2 separate regions of the Homo sapiens genome follow, and region 2 is linked to region 1. The links are contacts of gene promoters, found by promoter capture Hi-C in human tissues and cell types (Jung and others, 2019). All regions are on one chromosome and are shown on one strand. The core of a region is centred on a gene start or on the middle of the fragment in contact, and the rest is flanking DNA. Distances in the headings are between cores, read along the strand shown.

Evidence for each region. The method cuts DNA at HindIII sites, captures the fragments that hold promoters and counts their contacts. A contact is called where the count stands out against the background at its distance.
Region 2: a fragment that was not itself captured here is called in contact with the fragment with the promoter of AK3 in region 1 in 1 of the 25 tissues and cell types used here (lymphoblastoid cells).

Annotation. Positions count from the first base shown.
Region 1 is chr9:4,739,952-4,742,451 of GRCh38, reverse strand. It overlaps AK3 (adenylate kinase 3), which reads left to right and starts at 1,250. Exons shown (of 5, transcript NM_016282.4): 1 at 1,250-1,515. The coding sequence starts at 1,365. RefSeq lists silencers at 861-1,350, 1,581-1,720. The HindIII fragment of the contact is 7,449 bases long and covers 1-2,500 here.
Region 2 is chr9:5,070,357-5,077,491 of GRCh38, reverse strand. JAK2 (Janus kinase 2) reads right to left here. Exons shown (of 25, transcript NM_004972.4): 13 at 4,866-5,000; 14 at 3,707-3,794; 15 at 1-39. It also overlaps a transcript of INSL6 not described here. Among named protein-coding and RNA genes, the nearest start is that of JAK2, 89 kb to the right of the region's middle. The HindIII fragment of the contact is 4,435 bases long and covers 559-4,993 here.

The sequences.
Region 1 (2,500 bases), core at 1-2,500:
ATCAGTTCTGGACCTCTGAGGAGAATGGTAACTGTGTTTTATTTTCAGAGAGCCTTCTTTCTGCCTTAGCATAGTGTCCGGGACAAAGCAATGATGATAAATGGACAACCATTATTGAACATTGACCCCGTAGCTGGCATTGCACTAAGTACTACATTATTTTAACTCCTCCATTCTACTCCTCTATGCCCATTTTACAGGCAAAATGATACTCACTCGAACGTTTTTGTCCTCTGTTTCCATTCTTGAAACATGCCAAACCTCCAGTTTTAGGGCCTTTTCCTAAAACTGGACATAGGAAGGGCCCATGTCTCTCTCTTCCATATTCTAATTAAGCACTCAGCACACATGCCATCTCTTCAAAGCTTTTCCGACCGCCTATCTACAACAGCCTGCCTCCACAGTTTCACACACTCTTTTACGTTATTTATAAAAGAGTCTCACTCAATGGAAGCTGGATTTCCTCTCCTGTAAAATGAGGTAGGCCCTCTCGGCTCAAGGTCACTCCCTGTGATTCTACACAGAGAGGGAGTGGGAAGAGAGGGCGCTCGGCAGCAGAGGAGGAGGAGGAAGGAGGGAAGGGCGAAGGCGGGAGTGGGTGCAGAAGCGGGGGGTCTGGCGGTCCAGGGGGGTAGAAGGGAGGGGCGGATTCGAGTGGGCGCCAGGTGGAGGTGGGGCCAGGGTTGTCAAGGGAGCACGAAAGGGGTCGCGGTGTGTCCGGCAAGGACTGGGTAGGGCAGCGCCTGCTATGGACTAGGGGCGAGGGCTACGAAAGGGTTGTTGGAGGGGTGGATGCGGGTGGATCCCGAAACCAAGCGGCTCCGAGGGGCGACTAGAGGTGGGGAGGGGGCGCGCAGGAGTTGCCAAGGTCGGACAGAGGGGAGCGCGGTCTATCCGGCTGGGAATGGGCCGGACAGGGCGCGGGGTTCCGGGGTCGCGGAGAGGCGCGGAGGTAGATCTGAGCCGAGTGGAGGGCGCGTGGGGGTGGGTGCAGAGGGGCGCCGAAGGGATCCGGGCCCAGCGGCCGGTGGAGAGGGGCCGCGGAGAGGCGCAGGTGGGAGCTGGGCGGCCGAGCGAGCGCAGAGGGGGCGCGGCTTGCGCGGCTTGCGCGGCTGGGCGGGAACAGGCGCTCGGTCGGGGGCGGGGGGTGCGCCGGGGTAGCCGAGAGGCGGACGCAACAGCGGGGTCCCGCGCTGTCTGGGCGGCCCCAGGGGCTGTCGGCTCACTTCCGGGAACGCCGGGGAACCGCAGTAGCCGCCTGCTAGTGGCGCTGCTAGCCGGCCGGCGCAGGCTGCCGAGCGGGTGAGCGCGCAGGCCAGGCCAAAGCCCTGGTACCCGCGCGGTGCGGGCCTCAGTCTGCGGCCATGGGGGCGTCCGCGCGGCTGCTGCGAGCGGTGATCATGGGGGCCCCGGGCTCGGGCAAGGGCACCGTGTCGTCGCGCATCACTACACACTTCGAGCTGAAGCACCTCTCCAGCGGGGACCTGCTCCGGGACAACATGCTGCGGGGCACAGGTGGGAGCTCTGGGCCCAGGGCCGGCCGTGCGCTGTCACCCGGGTCGGACTTCGCGGGCGAGGGGCCGAAGCTGGGCACGCGGGTCCCTGGCTGCGGGCGCGGCATTTCCCTCCCGCCGCCCGGGACAGAGACCTCGGGCTGCTGAGCGACTGCGCCCCAAAACCTCCGGCCTCCGTGGGCCGCTTCGGGCGGGTTATGGGGTGGCGGTGGGGGAAGGGACTGGAAAGTTAGGTCGAGCTCGAAGTTCAGAGATGAAAGGAAACCACCGGGCTTTGTTTCAGAGGCCCAAGTCCTCCCAGTGGCAGCCACTCTTGGGGGTCCATCGAGCTGAGCCGCAGCTTGTTCAACGTGCTGGTGCCTTTGGAAGACTGTCATTAGCCCTGCTAGAGTCTGCTCGTTCTGTTTTGTTTTCTTTGTTTCTTTCTTTTCTCTTTCTTTTTTGGTGTGGTTAAGCTCTATGAGATCTTGTAGTTCTGACCTTTCCCCCATATTCCCAAGGCCAAGTATTATTTACCCTTGTTGCAGTCATAAAATTATCTCATTTTGATATCCTTAGATTTCGTAGACACGAAGGCTATTCTTGTGCATGGTTCTATAAAATATTTTGTTTCTCATGCCAAATAAATTCTTACAGCTCGGCACGAAAGGCAGTTAACAATCTACACTATACAATGGGTGAATTTGTGGTATGTAAATTCTCTCTTAAGAGGGTTGTTTTTGAAAAGCCAATCGCAGGAGTTTTTTTCTCAAAAAATGTTGACCTTACTTTTCAAAATAGAACCCGTTTTGAAACTCATTTTGAAACCCATTTACATAGAAATAATGCTTCCACAAGGCCTTTTTCTTTTGTTTTCCTTCTTTTTTTTTTTTTTTTTGTAAGGATAGCAAACAGGATAGACGTGCATAGCATAAAAAACAACGCCCTCTTTCGTTCCCTACCTCAGTCCCATTCTTCGGAGGGGAACAGAGTTTTCCTTCTAGAAA
Region 2 (7,135 bases), core at 1,527-4,026, 330 kb before region 1:
CTAGTGATCCAAATTTTACAAACTCCTGAACCAGAATATCTGCATTAAAATATAAGTAATAATAATAAGGCTTAAGTATAAATATAATTAAATATATGTAATTTAAATCTTTATACTTACATGTGACCATTATAGGTAAAGAAATTAAATTGGCAAAACTCACAACTTTAAAGAAAACTTAATGGATACACAGCATTATATTTTTGGTTTTTAGTTTACTTACAACAGCAAGAGTAGGAGTCTAAACAATTATATATTATTATATATAACATAAATGTATAATATATAATATACCAGCACACCTTTATATATTAGTACTGAATTATGGCTGGTTTTTAAAAATAAATGAAAATTTCTCAATTTCTCTTCCACATAACTTTTTAGACATTCAAACCTTCCTGAAGTTCTTCTACACACAAAAATTACTAACAATTGTCTATAGTACTATAGACATAAAGGAGAATTTGAGTTCTAGCTCCATTTAATCTTTTAATTCTGCAAAAAATACAGAAATGTTTTGCGCTGCTTTATCTTTAAAACTTTTTTAAAAAAATATATAAAACATATTTTGCCAGAAAAACAAGTGTTGGCTTCCAAAAACAATCCTGGATTCCTTCATGGTCCACAGGAGCCTCTCAGATACCTCCATATAACAGGTTCCAAACCACTGCTTTTGAGAAGATTATCAATTTTCAAAGATATGAAAAAATGTCATACAAGTGTAGATGTGTATTTAATCTGCATTACTAGTGGAAAATAGGGAATTATATAAACAATTTTCTTGAATGTAAACTTTGTGAGGCACTAAAATAAAGGCATACCTCGAAGATATTACCAGTTTGGTTTTAGACTACCATAATAAAGCAAGTCATGAATTTCTTGGTATCCCAATGCATATAAAACTTGTATATACACTATAATGGAGTCTATTTAGTGTGCAACAGCGTTATATCTTAAAAAAAACAAAGAATATATCTTTTTAAAAATACTTTATTGCCAAAAAAGGTGCTAATGATAATCTGAGCCTTCAGAAAGTTGTAATCTTTTTGCTTGATGTTAATCGCTGCTGACTGATCATGGTGGTGGCTGCTTAAAGTTCAGGTAGCTGTGGCAGTTTCTTAAAATAAGACAACAATGAAATTCACTGCAGACTCTTCCTTTCATGAAAGATTTCTCTGTAGCATGCAATGCTGTTTGATAGCCTTCTACCCACAGTAGAACTTTACAGGGTCAGTCCTCTCAAACCCTGCAACTGCTTGATCAATCAAGTTTATGTAAAATTCCAAACCCTTTGTTGTCATTTCACAATGTTCACAGCATCATCACTAGGAGTAGATTCCATCTTAAGAAACCACTTTCTCTGCTTATCCATAAGAAGCAACTCCTCCTTCTTTCAGGGCTTATCGTGAGATTGTAGCAATTGAGTCACATCTTCAAGCTCCACTTCTTAGTTCTCTGTTTCCACCATCTCTGCAGTGACTTCCTTCATTAAAGTACCATATCCCTCAAAGTCATCCAGGAGGGTTAGAATGAACTTTTTCCAAATTCCTATTAATGCTGCCATTTTGATCTCCTTCCATGAACCATGAATGCTATTCCTGGCATCTAGAATGGTGAATCCTTTCCATAAGTTTTTCTACTTACTTTACCCAGATCCACCAGAGGAATCACTATCTATGGCAGCTTAGCCTTACAAAATGTATTTCTTAGATAATAAGACTTGAAAGTTGAAATAACTCCTTGATCCATGGGCTACAGAATGGATGTTGTGTCACCAGGCCTGAAAATAACATGAATATCCTTGTACATCTCCATCAGAGCTCTTGGGTGACCAGGTGCATTGTCAATGATCAGTAATACTTTGAAAGCAATCTTTTTTTCTGAGCAGGTCTCAACAATGGGCTTAAAATAGTCAATAAACCATGCTATAAACAGATGTGCTGTCATCTAGGCTTTCTTGTTCCATGTATAGAGCACAGGCAGAGTAGACTTAGCATAATTCGCAGAGCCCTGGGATTTTTGGAATGGTAAATGAGCGCTGGTTTGAATTTCAAATCACCAATGGCATTGGCCCTTAGCAAGAGGGTCAGCCTGTCCTTCGAAGCTTTGAAGGCAAGCACTGACTTCTCCTCTCTAGCTGTGGAAGTCCTAGATGGCATATTCTTCCAACAGAAGGCTGTTTTGTTTACATTTGAAAATCTGTTTGTTAGTGTCACCATCTTCATCAATGGTCCTTGCTAGATCTTCTGGATAACTTGCTGTAGCTTCCACATCAGCATTTGCTGCTTCACCTTGCACTTATGCTGTGCACATGGCTTCTTTTCTTAAACCTCATGAACCAACCTCTGCTAGCTTCCAACTTTTCTTCTGCAGCTTCCTCACCTCTCTCAGCCTTCATAGAATTTAAGAGCATTAAGATCTTGCTCTAGATTGGGCTTTGGCTCAAGGGAATGTTGTGACTGGTTTGATCTTCTATCTAGAACTTTCTCTGTATCATCAATAAGACTGTTTCACTTTCTTGTAATTTATGTGCTCACAGGAGTAGCACTTTCAGTTTCCTTCAAGGACTTTTCCTTTGGATTCATAACTTGCCTTTTTAGTGCAAGAGGCCTAGCTTTCAGCTTGTCTTGGCTTTCAGCATGCCTTCCTCTCTAAGCCATCTTCATCAATGGTCTTTGCTAGATCTTCTGGATAACTGCTGCAGCTTCCACATCAGCGTTTGCTGCTTCATTTCTAGCTTTCCATTTAAAGTGAGAGACGGGTGAATCTTCCTTTCACTTGAACATTTAAAGACCATTGTGTGATTATTAAATGGCCTAATTTTAATATTGTTGTCTCAGGGAATAGGGAGGCCCCAGGAGAGGGAGAGAGACAGAGGAATGGCTCATTGATGGAGCAGTCAGAGCACACACTGCATTCATCTATGAAGTTTGCCTTCTTATATTCTCTCTGTTTGGGACACCCCAGAATAATTACAATACTAGCATTAAAGATTACTGATCACAGATCACCATATGATTTTTTTAAAGTTTGAAATGTTGCTAGAATTACCAAAATATGACACAGAGACATGAAATGAGCACATGCTGTTGGGAAAATGTTGCTGACAGAGTTGCTAGACACTGGGTTGCCGTAAACCTTCAATATGTAAAAAATACAATATCTAAGAAGCACAATAAAGCAAGGTGCAATAAAATGAGGCATGCCTGTATAGTATTAAAGCATGGGGTACGATTTATACTTTTAGTAGTTTCTGTGAACACCTAAATTTAGCCAAAAAATATATCTAGTATCATATCAACATAATCATTTCTGTCAGTTCCATTAAAAATTAAGTGTATCATTTATATGCTTTGTCTTCATAATTCCAGATAAGTTTGTACTGAAAAGGCCAGTTATTCCAATGTTATGTTGAACCTGCCATAATCTCTTTTGCTATCATGAACACAAAATGTTTTATAGACATTTGTTTACTATAATACTCTATTGTTTGGGCATTGTAACCTTCTACTTTTAACTTCATTGCTTTCCTTTTTCACAAGATATAACTGAATAGTCCTACAGTGTTTTCAGTTTCAAAAATACTTAACTCCTGTTAAATTATAGTTTACACTGACACCTAGCTGTGATCCTGAAACTGAATTTTCTATATAAACAAAAACAGATGCTCTGAGAAAGGCATTAGAAAGCCTGTAGTTTTACTTACTCTCGTCTCCACAGACACATACTCCATAATTTAAAACCAAATGCTTGTGAGAAAGCTTGCTCATCATACTTGCTGCTTCAAAGAAAGACTAAGGAAAAAAAAAAGTACAAAGAATTGTTGTTTGACTGTTGTCCATAAATAGTTCAGAAAATTCTCTCTGCCATAATAAAGATGCACTTTCTCCTACTTTCAGCATGACTATAGATGAGGATACAATGTGCTTTGGTCCCTTTATATGGACCTGCAACTGCCATCAACGTTCTGAGGAAACCCCTGTGTAAGCCTGGAATATGGAGATCAAAGTGAGAGAGAGCAAGAGTGGTACAGGAATCATGAATAATGCCAGTCAAACAGGCTTGACCCATAACACCTGAAATAGAGGACAGAAGTACAACTAGAGGTAGATGTCAGAGATAGATATAGGAAACTGAGGTAGATGGATGTAGCCTTTAAATAACACTTGCTAAAGAATTAAGAATGTGCAGATAAAATATCACGACATCTGTGTCAGGATACTAGCATAGTTTTAACATCACTCTAATTCAACTAAACTGTGACTAGAACCCCTGGGTATGATTAGTGAATCACAATCACCAATACTGTGGTATTCTGGATTAGAACAACTCTTTGGCTTGAACTTTTCACATCATCTTCTAACACCAACACCCTTTAAGATATTGTAAGTATCATATCTTGCTATGTTCAGAGCTCTGGCAACTGGCCACGGGGTCTGCCAGCTAGCATCTCTGGATGATGCCCAGAGGCATCTAGATTTCACTAAGCATGTTCCTTAGTACAGTGCCTTTGAAACTTGGTTTTTTGTTTTTTTTTCAAATAAATGTAATTGTAGAGGAGCCTCTGTGTAACCCATAAAGCTCTGGGGAGCCAAGTTTGAAAATCAAGGCCACAGTATATGCAGAAATGTAATAACACTCCTAACATAATGCTAAACATAATTAGTTTGGAATTAATTTTTTTAATCCGGTAATTTTCAAACCCTGTAATTCTATAGCCCCACAAGAATGTATCCTCAGAAAAGTCCTTGACACATTTAAAAATTACAATTTTGAAAAGCTGCACACATGAGTACGTTGTATGCATATGAGAGCACATCTTTAAACAGCATAAACTACATGAACAATATAAAGAACATACACACCTCTGAATAGTTTCTGTGTGCTTTATCCAGAACTTTTAAAAGAACTTCTGTTTCATGCAGTTGACCGTAGTCTCCTACTTCTCTTCGTACGCCTTTAAAAATCTTTGTAAAAGTGCCTTGGCCAAGGCTTTCATTCTTCAAGAGAAAAAGGTAAAAGAAAAGAATGAGTAAAGATGGAGAACGAAGTAGGAACAAGAAAATACATTCAATGAGGAAGAATTTTTTTAAATCCATAAGCAAGTATTTTCCTTAGAATCTAAATCCAGATTTAAGACTCCAAATTAATGCTTTTATTCTGCTTCCTTAAATAGTAATAAGAGACAGAAAACAAGGATTAATGAATTAAGTGTATTTTGGCTCTACTCGGTTTTGAAATCTCCTGAATGGGCTATAATTGTCACTTTTTAAAAATAGAGTCAGTGTTTACCTACATTTGCTTACATGGGAATCATTTTCTTTGCCTTTCCTACTAGCACACTAGAGAATGTGGTCTGCAGAGGCAGAATATCTGACTTTCTCTTATTACCACTTGTATGACCTTGTACAGGCTATTTAATCTCTGTGCTGCAGCTGTCGTGGTTTCTTCATCTGAAAAATGAGAATAATAACTATTTTCCCATAGGATTGTTATGATCAATAAGTGAATAAATACATAAAAGCACTTAGCACAGTCCATGACACATAGTAAATGTGCATTAAGTATCAGCTATTACTACTAATACTAGTATTTCTTGCATATCTTTACAAAGTAATTGTTGAAAGCCTGCACTCTGCAGTAAGGCTGCTTGTGTTCAAATCCAAGGTCTACTATTTATTAGATTTGTAATGTTAGTCAAGTTACCTGGCCACTCTGTTTCCTGTTACTCACATGAAGATGCTTGTCTTTACCATTCTGGCTAATTCTATCTATTGTCTCCTTATAGAGCTCAGATATGAGTTGGGTCTTTCTCATTTTGCCTTCCATGCCACTTAATCCCTCTTTCATATAATCCATTTCTTTCTCCCTAACTGCTGCATTCTTAATTTCTTCAGATCTGTCTTGAGGTTCACTACATCTCTCTTCAGCTATAAGTAATTTACTTTTCATCCTGTATATTCTGTTTTAATGTCAATGAGGATATTTATCATTTCTATGCCTTTTTCCTGACATCTTTTTTGTTTGTTAAAACAATGTCTTGTTATTTCTCCGTGGTTTCAATTCCTTTTCTATCTTTAAACATGTATATGTATTTTATAGTCTGTATCTGAAAATTCTGTGATAGGAAGTTCCTGGAGTTCTAATTTTGATGTTTGTTGGTCTACTGACTCTTAATTAATCCTGCATTATTTCCTTGTATGTTTCTAAATTTTCTATTAAAAGCTTGTGTTTGCAATGCTTTTATCTGTGGGAATTATGGGTTGCCTAGGTTAAGAGTATGTGGTTCCGAAAAGATTTTTTTGTTTCTTCCAAGCACCACACAATATTAGGAGAGTACCACTTTTAATTTAGGATTTCTCAGTCTATGTAGGTAGTATAATGAAGCCCAAATTCCAAAGCTTATGATGACAAATTCTTAGGAGAGACTCCTTTTCCTCACCAGAAGCGCAGTTAAAAATGACAATATTCCTTTTCTTCTCTGCTTGCTAGTGGGTGAATTTTTCACATTCTATATATTGTTTTACTGAGGATGTATTTACTTAAGTGTCCTGGTTTTACTCAGGGATAGTCTCACTTTTAACTCGTGGCCTTGCACAGGTCTGAGACCTGGCCCTTTTAAATTGCTCTTAAATCTTAACCCCCTTGATAAATGTGGCTGATCATCAACCCTCACCACCTGACTGCCAGATTATCAGATCTTATGTACTACAGTTGACCCTTGAACAGCATGGGTTTGGACTGCACAGGTCCATTTATATGTGGGTTTTTTTCAATAAATCCAGTGGGCCCTCTGTACTGGCAGGGCGGGTTCTGCATCTGCAAGGAAACTCAGTTGGAAAATATAGTATTTCTGCATTCCAGCCTGGGTGACACAGCAAGTCCTGCTCTAATAAATAAATAAATAATTTTAAAAAATAATTAGTTATTTAAAAAAAGAAATACAGTGTTCATAGGATGCAAAACCCATGTATATAGAGGGCCAACTTTTCATATCCACAGGTTCCACTTAAGTATCCTCAGATTTTGGTATCCATGGGTAGTCCTGGAACCAATCCCTCATGGACACTGAGAGATGGCTGGATTTTTTTCTCAGTTTCTTCTTTATTTTTAACCCCTTGAATTTCCCTTACTT